Regions from separate parts of the Homo sapiens genome. Here regions 1 and 3 are each linked to region 2. Evidence: promoter capture Hi-C in 16 types of primary human blood cells and fetal thymus (Javierre and others, 2016). All regions are on one chromosome and are shown on one strand. The core of a region is centred on a gene start or on the middle of the fragment in contact, and the rest is flanking DNA. Distances in the headings are between cores, read along the strand shown. Region 1 overlaps NDUFAF2 (NADH:ubiquinone oxidoreductase complex assembly factor 2). Region 2 holds the start of LINC03152 (long intergenic non-protein coding RNA 3152). Region 3 overlaps NDUFAF2 (NADH:ubiquinone oxidoreductase complex assembly factor 2).

What was found. The method cuts DNA at HindIII sites, captures the fragments that hold promoters and counts their contacts. A CHiCAGO score of 5 or more calls a contact.
Region 1: a fragment that was not itself captured here is called in contact with the fragment with the promoter of LINC03152 in region 2 in 2 of 17 cell types (monocytes and total B cells); the score reaches 6.5 in monocytes.
Region 3: a fragment that was not itself captured here is called in contact with the fragment with the promoter of LINC03152 in region 2 in 1 of 17 cell types (M1 macrophages); the score reaches 5.1 in M1 macrophages.

Annotation. Positions count from the first base shown.
Region 1 is chr5:61,022,901-61,027,000 of GRCh38, reverse strand. The region is part of intron 1 of NDUFAF2 (NADH:ubiquinone oxidoreductase complex assembly factor 2); the gene reads right to left. Among named protein-coding and RNA genes, the nearest start is that of NDUFAF2, 80 kb to the right of the region's middle. The HindIII fragment of the contact is 740 bases long and covers 1,236-1,975 here.
Region 2 is chr5:61,696,937-61,701,252 of GRCh38, reverse strand. LINC03152 (long intergenic non-protein coding RNA 3152) reads left to right here and starts at 2,821. Exons shown (of 8, transcript NR_109910.1): 1 at 2,821-3,341; 2 at 3,614-3,843. The region is part of intron 1 of LINC03122 (long intergenic non-protein coding RNA 3122); the gene reads right to left. The HindIII fragment of the contact is 4,284 bases long and covers 662-4,316 here.
Region 3 is chr5:61,087,469-61,091,853 of GRCh38, reverse strand. All of the region lies in intron 2 of NDUFAF2 (NADH:ubiquinone oxidoreductase complex assembly factor 2), which reads right to left. Among named protein-coding and RNA genes, the nearest start is that of SMIM15-AS1, 73 kb to the left of the region's middle. The HindIII fragment of the contact is 194 bases long and covers 2,025-2,218 here.

The DNA.
Region 1 (4,100 bases), core at 356-2,855, 670 kb after region 2:
AAATAAAGCTATCTGAGGGCATCCTGTTATGGTTAAAAGTACACACTGCCCACAGAGACAAAGAACTCTGCAGGAACAATGAACACACTCCTAAGTCCTTCAGTTCACCTACAATCCATGAATATTTTAAAATCATGTATAATATGAAATCTCCACAAGATATGCATTAAACAAAAGAAAGAACTTTTTGTACATTTTGCTAAAAATAAAAAACCCACCACACTTGAAAATGAAATAATTTCCTTGAAAAGGTAACTTGTTCTCTGTCACTATTATTTGGATATCCATTCAAAAAATTTTTAAAACACATTTTAAAATAATAATTGTTATTCTCAAAAACATCAACTGTAGGTTACTTGCAAGAACATGAAATAATTATTTCAGTGACATAGAAAACAAGCTCGTATTATATTCCTACAATACTCATCTTCTATCTTGAAAGGCTCTTATGAAAACCTGTACTATACAACCTTTTTTAACTTCAAGAGCTATCTTATTCTTTCTGTTTAAATAGTAAAGATAAACTGATTTTTACACACATATTAGATTTTCTACAAATGACTAAACACATATTTAGATATCAAATGTGGACATATTTAGTTAAAATCAATTAAACTGAGAAGTCCTTCCCTCTGGCTGTCTATATTTTTCTTTAATCCTGGTCAGTGTAAACCCTTATTACCAGTAATTTGTGACTATAATGCTGAGGAAAAATGCTAGCCTCACGATTTTTGTCATTTCTCCCCCCTCCTCCCCTGCAGGCTGCTACTGTTGATGGCCTTTATGGAAATATAAATTCAATCAGCAGCTGCAAATTTCATGAGACGTCCATCTTCATGCTGAATTTCTAACTGAGTGTCAAAACAATCTGTGGATTTCTCCCTGATGAAACACATATTGAATTGTAAATTTCTGCAATTTCCTCATGTTTGAATTTCAGTTGCAGCAAAATAGTGCTATCTCAGATATATTTCCCATAAGGCTCAAACAAGTAATTTTCTCCTATTCCTTCATTCCATTTAAAGAGTTAACTTTTTTAAAAAGCCATGATATAAAACATCTGCCCCCAAGTGAACAATTAAATTTTCTATATTATTATAAGAAAATGAGCATATAAAAACCATTAATATATGTTTTACAAATAAATTTTCACCCCAAGAGACTTATTTTTTCTATGTGATCTTTATTTACTTACTTATTTATTTTGTAATTAGTGGTAAACAATGCAATAAGCTTTGATAAAATTAGTGTTTTCTATATATGAAGTCAAGACAGTAAATAAATCAAAAGCAGTCACAAAATAATGACTAGTAACTTCAAGGTTAATGAGACACATTTTCATTAAATATTGCCAAGAGTAAAAATATTAAAACATAGAATCAAAACAGAGCAGGCATTCCTCTTAATACATATTTACAGAGTTAATTTTTCACCAAAGAATCATTTTCAACTAAATAGCTAAATAGAACTGCTTTTAAATAACACACTATTATAGAAACCATATTCTTTCACAACTAAATAAGCAAAAATGTTATATGTTTAAAAAAGATATCTTAAGAAATTCATTAAGTAACTTGTATTCCAAGATACTAACTTGTTTTTATAAACATCTTTTATTAATATTACTAACAAAATAATTCATAGTCCTATTTAAAAATTCAACAAGACAATGCAGTAGACAAATCTTACGGATGATCTGTAAAACAAGTAATGAAATCACAATTATCGATTCATTCAATAAATATATATTGAACATCTCCTATGTGCCAGTTATGTTTATGAGGTCATGGGGTTATGGAGATGTGCAGAATACAGTCCTTTACCTCAGAGAAGGCAGTTTAGTTGAGAGGCAAAAAGAAAAAAAAATATTAAAACATAGTAAAATAAATGCTATAAGCTGACACATTATGGGAGGACAAATTTAGGGGAACGCTGAAGAGAGGGACAGCTATATCAATAAGCAGTTATAGAAGCTTTCAAAAAGAGCTGTAGTTTCTAAGGACGTATAGGAGTTAGCCAGGAGAGAAGCAGAAGGAGAGACATTCTAGGCAGAGGGGAGAATACAATTAAACACATGGAAGCATGAAATAGAGGGCCTTTGGAAAACTGTTAGCAATTGGAAACAGAGAACAAGGCTGATATGTAGTATGATAGAATAAGGTAGGCTAGAATATTAAATACTTATTTAAACATTTATTTTTTAAATAATAAAATGTTTATTTAAACATTATCCAGAAAGCAGTGGGAAAATATTTTAAGCAGAGGTATAATAATAATCAAGGATATCTCTCAACAGGATATAAAAGCTACAGTATAATGATTAAGAATACAAGCCTCTGGAGCCAGACTTACTTTAAATAGAGCTCTGCCATGTGCTAACTATGTGATTTGGGATAAGTTACTTTCTCTATTTCTCAATTATCTCAACAGTAAAACAGTGATAATAATACTACATATTGCAGGGTTAGAATGAAAATGACGTGTCTTATAATTATTTGAAGCTATTATTATTACTATTATTATTATCATTTTATAACTTGGTAGGGTCTATCAGTCTAACTTAACATATATGAGGCCTAAAACAAATAAACTTATTAAAATCACCTAGAACGTCCTTTGGCACAAACTAAACATTTGACTTATTTTCACTTAGAAAACATTTACTGAATATTTATTAGGTACCAGATACACACAAAACAAAAAATGTTTGAAAAACGCACTGGAGGGAAAAGAAAAGTTAAAACAATCCCAAAACAGAATTTTTAAAAAGCTATTAGAGAATCAACCAATATCCTTAAAATAGAAAGAAATTAAGAGTCAATCAAATTACATCAATGTTAAAAAAAACAGAAAATTCTTATAACATGGTATAGTCCAAGCCAATATGTAAGGGCTTCCTTCCTGCTCCAAACACAGAGAAATACTGGATAAAATACTTTCAAAATAATACTTTGCTAAAAATAAGAAACAAAAATTCCTCAAGTGCTGGAAACAAATAGAAGTCAAAGCCAGAGCCATAAGCTTAAACAGACACTGTAGCAATCCCCGGGGTTTCAAACTCAGCTCTAGGCTTTAAGGGCTAAGTGCTTGGACATACACCTTTAAATCACTTGCAGGAGTGAAAACATACCCATAGCTGATGTGAGGTGGGGGATCAAGAACTGAGCATCCACCTAAAGCTCACAGAATCAAAGAGGTGTGCTACTCAAGAAAAATTAACTAGAAAAACGTGGCCCATGAACTCTAAGAGGAAAGAAGCCAGTCATTAATTTGAAGCCTTCAATGAGAGAGGGAAAACAGTCACCACTAAAACATAAAAAACTCTACAAGAGTATCCTATATATGTGAGGGTTTTAAATTTACATAATTCCGTGGTGTAAAATTTAAAAGTAACATAAAATCTGACTGGACCCTTGAAATTTTTAAGGACCAAAAGATGTAGATGTAAATAGTCCCACAAAGATACTCACATACTATACTGGACTTCCATAGAATACATAGTCCCTAGTAAAGATGAGCTCATAATAAAAAATTATAAATTGAAGAAACCATCACGAGGAGAAAGCTTTAGCTGATGTAATAAATAGGCAAATTACCCTTCAAATACTACAAATAAAATAATCTAAAACTATAAATAGAATCTGAAAATGACTAAACCAGTAAAAATGTTTAGAATGATTTTTCAAAGACAGAAAAGCCACAATGACAACACTGGTTATGCAAAAAAAAGAACTAAAATATTTTTAAAAGAACCAAAGAGAAATTCAATAAAAAAAAATCACTTAAGAAAAAGAAAACCTCAAGGAATGACAGATTAGAATAGCTGATATGGAGGACAGAATACAATCTGTATCTTTACTAGGCATTCTAGAAGGAAATGACAGAAGAAGGGGGGAACACCTATTTGAAAAGACAGTGGCTGACATTTTCCAAAACTGATGAGCCACATGAATCCCTTCCCGGGTCTAGGAAAAACAAAAATCAGAATAAATAAATTAAAAGAAAAGAAACTCATACCTAAATAAAGTACAGTGAAAATGTAACACACTAAAGGCAGGCCGGGCATGGTGGTTCACGCCGGTAATCCTAGCACTTAGGGA
Region 2 (4,316 bases), core at 1,572-4,071:
GTCTTAGCCATTTTACTCTGATGGTTAAGTGGACCTGAGTTCAAGTCCAGTGTGCACTCCAGGAGTCAGGGCCTACACAAGGCCAGGAATGCCAGGAGACAGGATTGTTGGTGACCATCTCAGAAGTCTGCCTGCCACACATTATGATCATTTAGCCCAGGGGTAGCCAATCTTTTGGCTCCCCCTGGGCCACATTGGAAGAAGAATTCTCTTGGGCCACACATAAAATACACTAACACCAATGAAAGCTGATAAGCTAATAAAAAAAATGACGGAAAAATCTCATTATGTTTTAAGAAAGTTTATGAATTTGTGTTGGGCCGCATTCAAAGCTGTCCTGGGCTGCCTGCGGGCTGTGGGCCATGGCTTGGCCAAGCTTGATTCAGCCTGAGAACCGAGTGAGCATCAGAGGAGAAGGAAAAAGGAAACCTGTCCACAGCACTACCTGTTTTACAGTGGCTGTCAACTCTGGCTGCACTTTAGAATTACTTAAGAGCTTTTTAAAAATACCTATATCTGGGCCCCACACCACATATTCTAATTTAACTAGTCTCAAGTGGGTGCTAGGCTCCCTCCCCATGTGATTCCAATGAGCAGCAGGCCAGGCAAATACTGATTTCATCTTTCTAGCAAAGGTTAGGTAAGGAAGGGGATTTAAGCTTTGACTAACACAAAGGATGAACATAAACTCTGAGGGGTTTCCAGGTGGAAAGGCATGTTAAAAGTCACCAGACAGATCCTGCTCCTCTTGACCTGAGAACACCATCCCTGACACCATCACCTCCACACCATCCCCGACAAGGAGAGACACCTTGACCTCTGCACCCCCTTCTCCCCCACGCACACTCGTGGCCAGGCAGTTCACAGTGGGACACAGCTGACTGCTCAAAGGTTACCTTATGTTGAGCTGATTTCAATGATCTCTTCTATTCTTATTCCCATCCTTTGAGTTTTAGTAGAAAGACATAAAGAAAATTCCACATGATGTTGTTTAAAAAAAAAAATCTGAGCACCAGCTGTGTTACTGGATTGAAGGTTTGGCCCTGTTGTACTTTCAAATAACGATGATGCCTGCCCAAGTCAGAGGGACAGGTCTCAGCAGCTGTGAAGCTCATCTCCTCTCTCTGCCCCTGGAAACTCACCTGCCTGGTGTCCTAACTTGTCTACACTACAGCATCTCTCATCTTTTAACAGTACCAGGGGGTTAAGAGCTTAACGGGTTTCCTTGACTTTTGTTTTAACAATTACCTTCACTGCCTTACACTAAACTTGAGGCTATATAAAAAAGTCGCTTTTATATCATTAATTAAGTAATGTTTTCATTTTACAAATTTTTTTTTTTTTTTGAGATGGAGTCTTGCTCTGTTGCCCAGGCTGGAATGCAGTGGCGTGATCTCGGCTCACTGCAAACTCTGCCTCCCAGGTTCACACCATTCTCCTGCCTCAGCCTCCCGAGTAGCTGGGACTAGAGGCGCCCGCCACCACGCCCAGCTAACTTTTTATATTTTTAGTAGAGACGGGGTTTCACCGTGTTAGCCAGGATGGTCTCGATCTCCTGACCTCGTGATCTGCCCACCTCGGCCTCCCAAACTGCTGGGATTACAGGCGTGAGCCACCGCACCTGGCCTTACAAATATTGTTTTAAAGCCTATTCTGTTTGCAGAAGTGCTAGTTTACAGAGAAGTTAATGGTGAAGTAAAGGCAGACCCAGTTCCCCCTCATGGGAGCGTTAACTATATAATCACACAAACACATGTTAGGCCACACCTGGGATCTGGGGTGTACATCAGAGGTGCCTGGTGATTTGAGGGCACATTAACCTTGCCTGAGTGTCAGGGAGGGCTTCCCTTGAAGATCTGAGGCTTTAGCGGAGATGGGGAGGGTGAGGAGGAGTTAACTCTGGGGAGGGTGGGGACCAGAGCATCCAGACAGAGGAAGTCTTGCAGGCAGAGGCCCTGGACTGGGAGGGAACACGAGTAGGAGAAATTGAAAGGAGAGTTGTGTGACTGAGACCCAGAGCAAGGGAAAGTGGGCTGACAAAGGGGCAGGAGCCATCTTAAAGTGCATTATGACCCTAAGAACAATGGGAAGACATCAAAAAGTCTTTACTAGGCAGGGGAAAATGTTTAAATGTTAGCAGTAAACTTCACATAAGATAATTCCTCACTGGCCAATTCATACCATTATTCTGCATTTAGGTTTTAAAACATGGAAAGTTCCTTTTAAAAGCCAAAACATCCTTTTTAAATATCCAAAGGCCTCTATCATTTATTCATTCATTCTACAACTATTCTTGAGCACCCACTATGCACTGGGCCCTGCCTCTCGGTCACCGCCAATATCGAGCTTACATGCGGGTGAGAGAGACAGACAAGGAACAACAGCCGCATGGCCAGGGGTCTCTCCAGGGCTCTTGGTACTCCAGTGCCTCCCTGCACCCAGCCATCCTCAAAGCAACATTGGTATGAATGAGGCTGAGACTCACAGAGAAAGACAATAGTGGACAAAACAAAGTCGTGGCTCCCTGCAGGCTGACAGCCTAGTACAGGGAGCTAAGAACACATAACAGATGAATAGCTATACACACACCAGGTAGTTATAAATGCCATGAAAAATAAGACAGATAAGAGGAGTACAGAATGATGAAGGGCTTGCTATTTTATATACGATGGTCAAGAAAGTCTCTGATTAAGTGTCATTTGAGCAGAGAATGTGCTAGGAAGCTCTATGGAGGAACAGCATTCCAGGGAGATGGAATCACAAATGCAAAGATTCCGAGGTGGAAGCATGCTTGCTTTGTTCCGGGAACACAAGGAAGTCAGTGTGTCTAGAGGGGTGCACAGGGAGTGGCACGGCAAAGGGAATTGCCCCTCAGGAGCAGAGGGTTATGTCAGAGGGGAGGCGCGAACCAGGTCGCATAGCACATTCTAGGATGTAATGAGTGTGGATTCTATGTTGCCATGGGAAGCCAGCATCCTTGCACGAGGTGGTTAAGTGCTGAGAGAAGATAAATCAGATTAAGGGGCTAGAGAGAGACTGGAAGCCTGGGGAAGCTATTTGAAACAAACGGGCAGAGGAGCTCTCTCTGAGGAAGTGACTTTAGGGCTGAGTCTTGAAATATCTGAAGTAGCGACCATGCAGATTTCTGGGATAAGCCAGTTCCAGGCAGAAAAAATAGCACTGAAGTGGGAATAAGCATCACATATCCTGGAAAGAGCAAGAAGGTCAGCGTGGCCAGGGCACAATACCAGAGGAAGCAGGGGGAGGAGGCCAGCCCTGTGGAGGCCGTGGGACGGTACTTGGCTTTTATTCTAAATACACTGGGAAGATTTTCGAGGACTGTAAGTAGAAATGACATGGTATGTGTTTTCGTGGGATTACTCTGATTGCTGCATTGGGAATAGACAATAGCAGGGAAGAAGTGGAAGCAGGGAGACGAGATAGAACCCTGTTGCAGTAGCTAAGGCCTAAGATGGCAATGGCCTAGACAGAGGTGGCTGCAGGGATTAGGTTCAGGACCTATTTTGAAAGCAGAACTGGCAATACTCACTAATAAATAGGATATGGAGGTAGAAGAAAGAGAAATCAAAGATGACTTCTGTTTTTGTTGTAGCTTGCTTGTTTTTCGAGGGAACTGGCTGAAAACCCAGTAGATTTTGGTGGCTGTTCTTGACTAAGAAGAGTGTGGAACAAAGTCACAGAGCCACGGCCCCAGACAAGACCTGGATGAAGCGCTACAGCCTGGTAGTGCCAAGACTGGGAGGGAAACAGAAGAGCACTATGAGACAGAATCCAGAAGCAAGGAGAGGAAGGAAAGGCCTTGGACCCCCTAAGGAGAAGGAGGTTGGGAGGACCTATTAGGGAACACTTCACAGCTATGCTCCCTAGATTACTTTTGTGATCATTATAGAGTAAAACTGACTTTGTGTCTGTATATATTTACAGGTCTATGAATTTCAGTCATTGTATAATATACATATAAAACCACTACCACAATCAGGATACAGAACAATTCCATTGCCCTAAAAAACTCCCTCATGGCATCCCGTGTGTTTGTTTGTTTGTTTGTTTGTTTGTTTGTTTGTTTTTGAGATGGAGTCTCACTCTGTCACCCAGGCTGGAGTGCAGTGGCGTGATCTCAGCTCACTGCAACCTCTGCCTCCCACATTCAAGCAATTCTTCTGCCTCAGCCTCCTGAGTAGCTGGGACTTCAGGCATGTGCCCCCACACCTGGCTAGTTTTTGTGTTTTTAGTAGAGATGAGGTGTCTCCAGTGTTGGCCAGGCTGGTCTTGAACTCCTCATCTCAAGTGATCTG
Region 3 (4,385 bases), core at 872-3,371, 610 kb after region 2:
TGGATTAAAGACTTAAATGTAAAACCCAAAACTACAAAACCTCGGAAGACAACTTAGGCAATACCACTGAGCATATAGAAATGGGCAAAAATTTCATGAGAAGACACCAATTCTCAAAACAAAATTTGCAATTTTGTTGCAATTGCAACAAAAGCAAAAATGGACAAATGGAATATAATTAAACTGAAGAACTTTTGCACAGCAAAAGAAACTATCAACAAAGTCAACAGACAACCTACAGACTGGAAGACAATTTTTACCAACTATGCATCTGACAAAGGTCTAATATTCAGCATCTGTAAGAAACTTAAACAAATTTACAAGAAAATAAAATAAACAACCCCATTAAAAAGTAGGCCAAAGACATGAACAGACGCTTCTCAAAAGAAGACATACATGTGGTCAACAATCATAAAATAAAAAGCTCATTACTGATTGTTAAAGAAATGCAAATCACACCATCTCACACCAGTCAGAATGGCTATTATTAAAAAGTCAAAAAATAACAGACACTAGCAAGGTTGCAGAGAAAAAGGAATGCTATACATTGTTGGTGGGAGTGTAAATTGGTTCAACCATTGTAGAAGACAGTGTGAGATTCCTCAAAGACCTAAAGACAGAAATACCATTTGACCTAGCAATCCCATTACTGGGTATAAACCTAGAGGAATATAAATCATTCTATTATAAACACACATGCATGTGTATGTTTATTGCAGCACTATTCACAATAGCAAAGACATGGAATCAACCTGAATGTTCATCAGCGATACACTGGATAAAGAAAATGTGGTAAATATACACCATGGAATACATGCAGCCATAAAAAAGAACAAGATCATGCCTTTGTAGGGACATGGATGGAGCCAGAAGCCATTATCCTTAGCAAACTAACACAGGAACAGAAAACCAAATAATGCATGTTCTCACTTATAAGTGGGAGCTAAATTATGAGAACACATGGACACCTAGAGAGGAACAACACACACTGAAGCCTATTGGAGGGTGGAGGATGGGAGGAGGGAGAGGATCAGGAAAAATAACTAATGGGGTACTAGGCTGAATACTTGGGTGATTAAATAATCTGCACATCAAAATCTCCAGACACACATTTACTTATGTAACAAACCTGCATATGTACCCCTGAACTTAAAATAAAAGTTTTTTTAAAAATAAAGTTACTTATGTATAATTATGATTTTTTTTCTAGAAAACAGCTTCCTTTTAAAATAACTCAACATGAACTATATATCTATAAAAGGTTTCAGCAATATATCTTCAGTTTTAATGTAGAGTAGAAGTTAATTCTAGCTTTAGAAAAATCAACTTCTAGGACAGGTGTCAGCAAAGTATAGCCTGCAAGCCAAGTTTAGCCTACCACTTTTTACATTTTTTTAATGGTTGCAAAAACATCAAAAGACGAACAGTATTTCATGACATGAAAATCATAGAGAATTCAAAATTTCAGTGTCTAGAAATAAGGTTGATTGGAACACAGACAAACATTTGTTTACATATTATTTGTGGCTGCTTCTGTGCTACAACATTAGAGTTGAGTAATTGTAACTGACTAAGTGGCCCATAAAAAACCTAAAATATTTACCATCCGGACCTTTAAAGAAAAAGTTTGCCAACTCCTGTGCCAGGGCTACAATTAAGTATAATCCCTTTAGCGAAAAATACATATTTTGATGCAAAAACACTTTCATATTATTTAAAATAAAAATCATTATTGATTATTATACTTTTAACTAATGATTACCATGTATTCTAGAGTCTATGAAGACACACCAGTGGGCATAAGACCATGCTGAAAAAGTATAATGGCATAATGCACACTTATCGTCACCATGAGAAAAACAACTCTAAATAACAATCTGCCCTACTGATGAGTCTATAAAACAGCATTTTCAGTTCTCTTGTAAGGCTGAAAAAAAAAATACTTCAATTGAATACAAATCATTAAAAAAATTCCAAAGTAGTTAAAGAGGTTGGAGAAACTCTGTTATATGTTTTCTAAAGCTTACTGGTTTTGCATAAGTTTATAAAATTCATCCATTAATATAAGAATGTAATAGAACTTAAATACTGAATGTATTATAATAAATATTGCCTAGTCTATTTACTGTCAGGGGACTTCTTTTAGCTTCATTTTCAATGACCATTTAATGAATCTTGGTTTTACACAGATACATAAACATAACTACTGAAATAAGCTTGTATATTTATAATTGTACAATAACCAGATACTTGAAATGTCCTGTTGGGATGATGAGTGATGCCACTACTATTTGTTATGCATCCTGTAAAGGCTACAGCCGGAAATGCTCAACGTGACCACTTATTTGTAAAATCATACCCAATTTCCCAACTACTACATACAACAAATGACCAGCTGAAGTTTGCATTAATATCAAGACATTACTTTGTTGTTTTTGTTAACTTCAAAACAGTCTGAAACTGAACCATTATCCAATTATAAATTATATAATTTTGCCACTGCTAGTGATATTTATGTGGTGAAATCTGTATCAGTCCTCATTATAATGTAAACATTGTTTGAAATGAATTTAGCAAGATAACTGGACAGTTTACACCTTATGATCCTAGCATTCTTTCGTCAATATTCATTTGCATTCTCATCAGCATGTATGAGATTTTCACTGAACTTTAATATTCCTATTAGAATATAAGCCACTATAATAAGATTAAAGGTGAGTATGCAAATTAAAGCACCCTTTAATCACTTAAAGAGACTAGAAGAATCAAGCAAGAAAATACTTCATGAAGCATACACTCTTCAAATCTCCACAGGTGCTAAAAATGGCAAGTACACCTTTAGAAGCGTTGTCAATAGAGGCTAAAGTAAATGAAATACTCTATCACCAGATCCAGTAGGTAACCATTCAGAACCAAAATTACGGAAAGGTTATCAATAGTCTGCATCCAAAAGATATTGCATTAGAAATATGTGCTTACTTCACTTACAGAAGAGACTGTAATAAAGCCTCATCTTTAAAAAAATGATCTTTGCTAGTTCTGAGTGCTGACACTTCATAAAGGACTATAAAAATAAGAGATCCACAGTTTTTACTGTGAAAATCCTTCAAAGGATATATTATGAAACAAATCATTTTCCAATTATTGACTTTTAAGGATATCTTAGGGATATTATTAAGTTGGCATCTTTAAGTTACAAATTTTGTGGTGCTCATGGCTATTACTGTCTTTTCTCTTAACTTTATTGAGGTATAATTTACAAAATACTGTGAGCCATTTCAAGTGTGCAATTCCACAACTTCTAACAAAAATATTTACAATCCTGTAATTAGCACCACAATCAACAGACAGAACATTTCCATCACCTATAAAAGTTCCCCAGTCTGTTTACATGGAAACACCCACCTTATCCTACCCATAGTCCCCAGGCAATGAGTGATACTCTTAAGGTAGCCTACACAACCACCACCTCCTGGTACTCATACATTTGTATTATCTCTTCTCCTTGAATGAGGGTAGGACCCATGAATTCTAATTATAAGAACACGGCAAAGGTGATGGGATATATGTGCTCATGTGATTACGTTATATAAGATTATGGTGCTCATCTTGGCTGGAGTATTTTTCCCCCTGGCTGGCTGTAAGGAAAATGTGGCCATATTGGGAAACACCATTGGCAAGAAATTGCCAGTGACCTCTAGGACTCAGTGTGGTCTTTGGCCAACAACCAGTGAAAAAGTGAAGCTCTCAGTCTTACAACAGCAATGAACTGAATGCTGCCAACAACCACACAAGTGGGATGGTAGAGCTTTTCCTAATCAAGTCTCTAGATGAGAACCCAGCCTTGGGTTGATTACAGCTTAGTGAAACCCTTAACTAAAGAACCTAGCTAGGCTGTGCTTGGGCTCCTGATGCACAGAAACTGTAAGATAATAAATGTGTCTTATTTTAAGCTATTATTATTGTGGTAATGTTGACATACAGCAATAAAAACAAACATAATGAGCATATCAGCAGTTCATTATTTTTTATTGATGTGTAGTATTCCTTTGCATGGAAGTATGACAATTTGTTTATCCTCTCACTTGTTGGACATTTTAGTGGTTTTCAGTTTTTGGCTATTATGAATAAAGCTGCTGGGAAAATTCCGGTACAAGAATTTGTTTGGACTTATGTCTTTATGTCTCTGGGTGAATACTTAGCCATAAAATGTCCAGGTTGTAGGATAAGTGTGTATGTTTAAACTGATAAAGAACTAATAAACTGTTTTCCAAAGTAGTTGTAACATTTTACACTCTAGTCAGAAATATATGAAAGTTTCAGGTACTTTACATCTTCATGAATGTATTGTCAGTTTTGTTGGTATTATCAATTTCTAAAATATT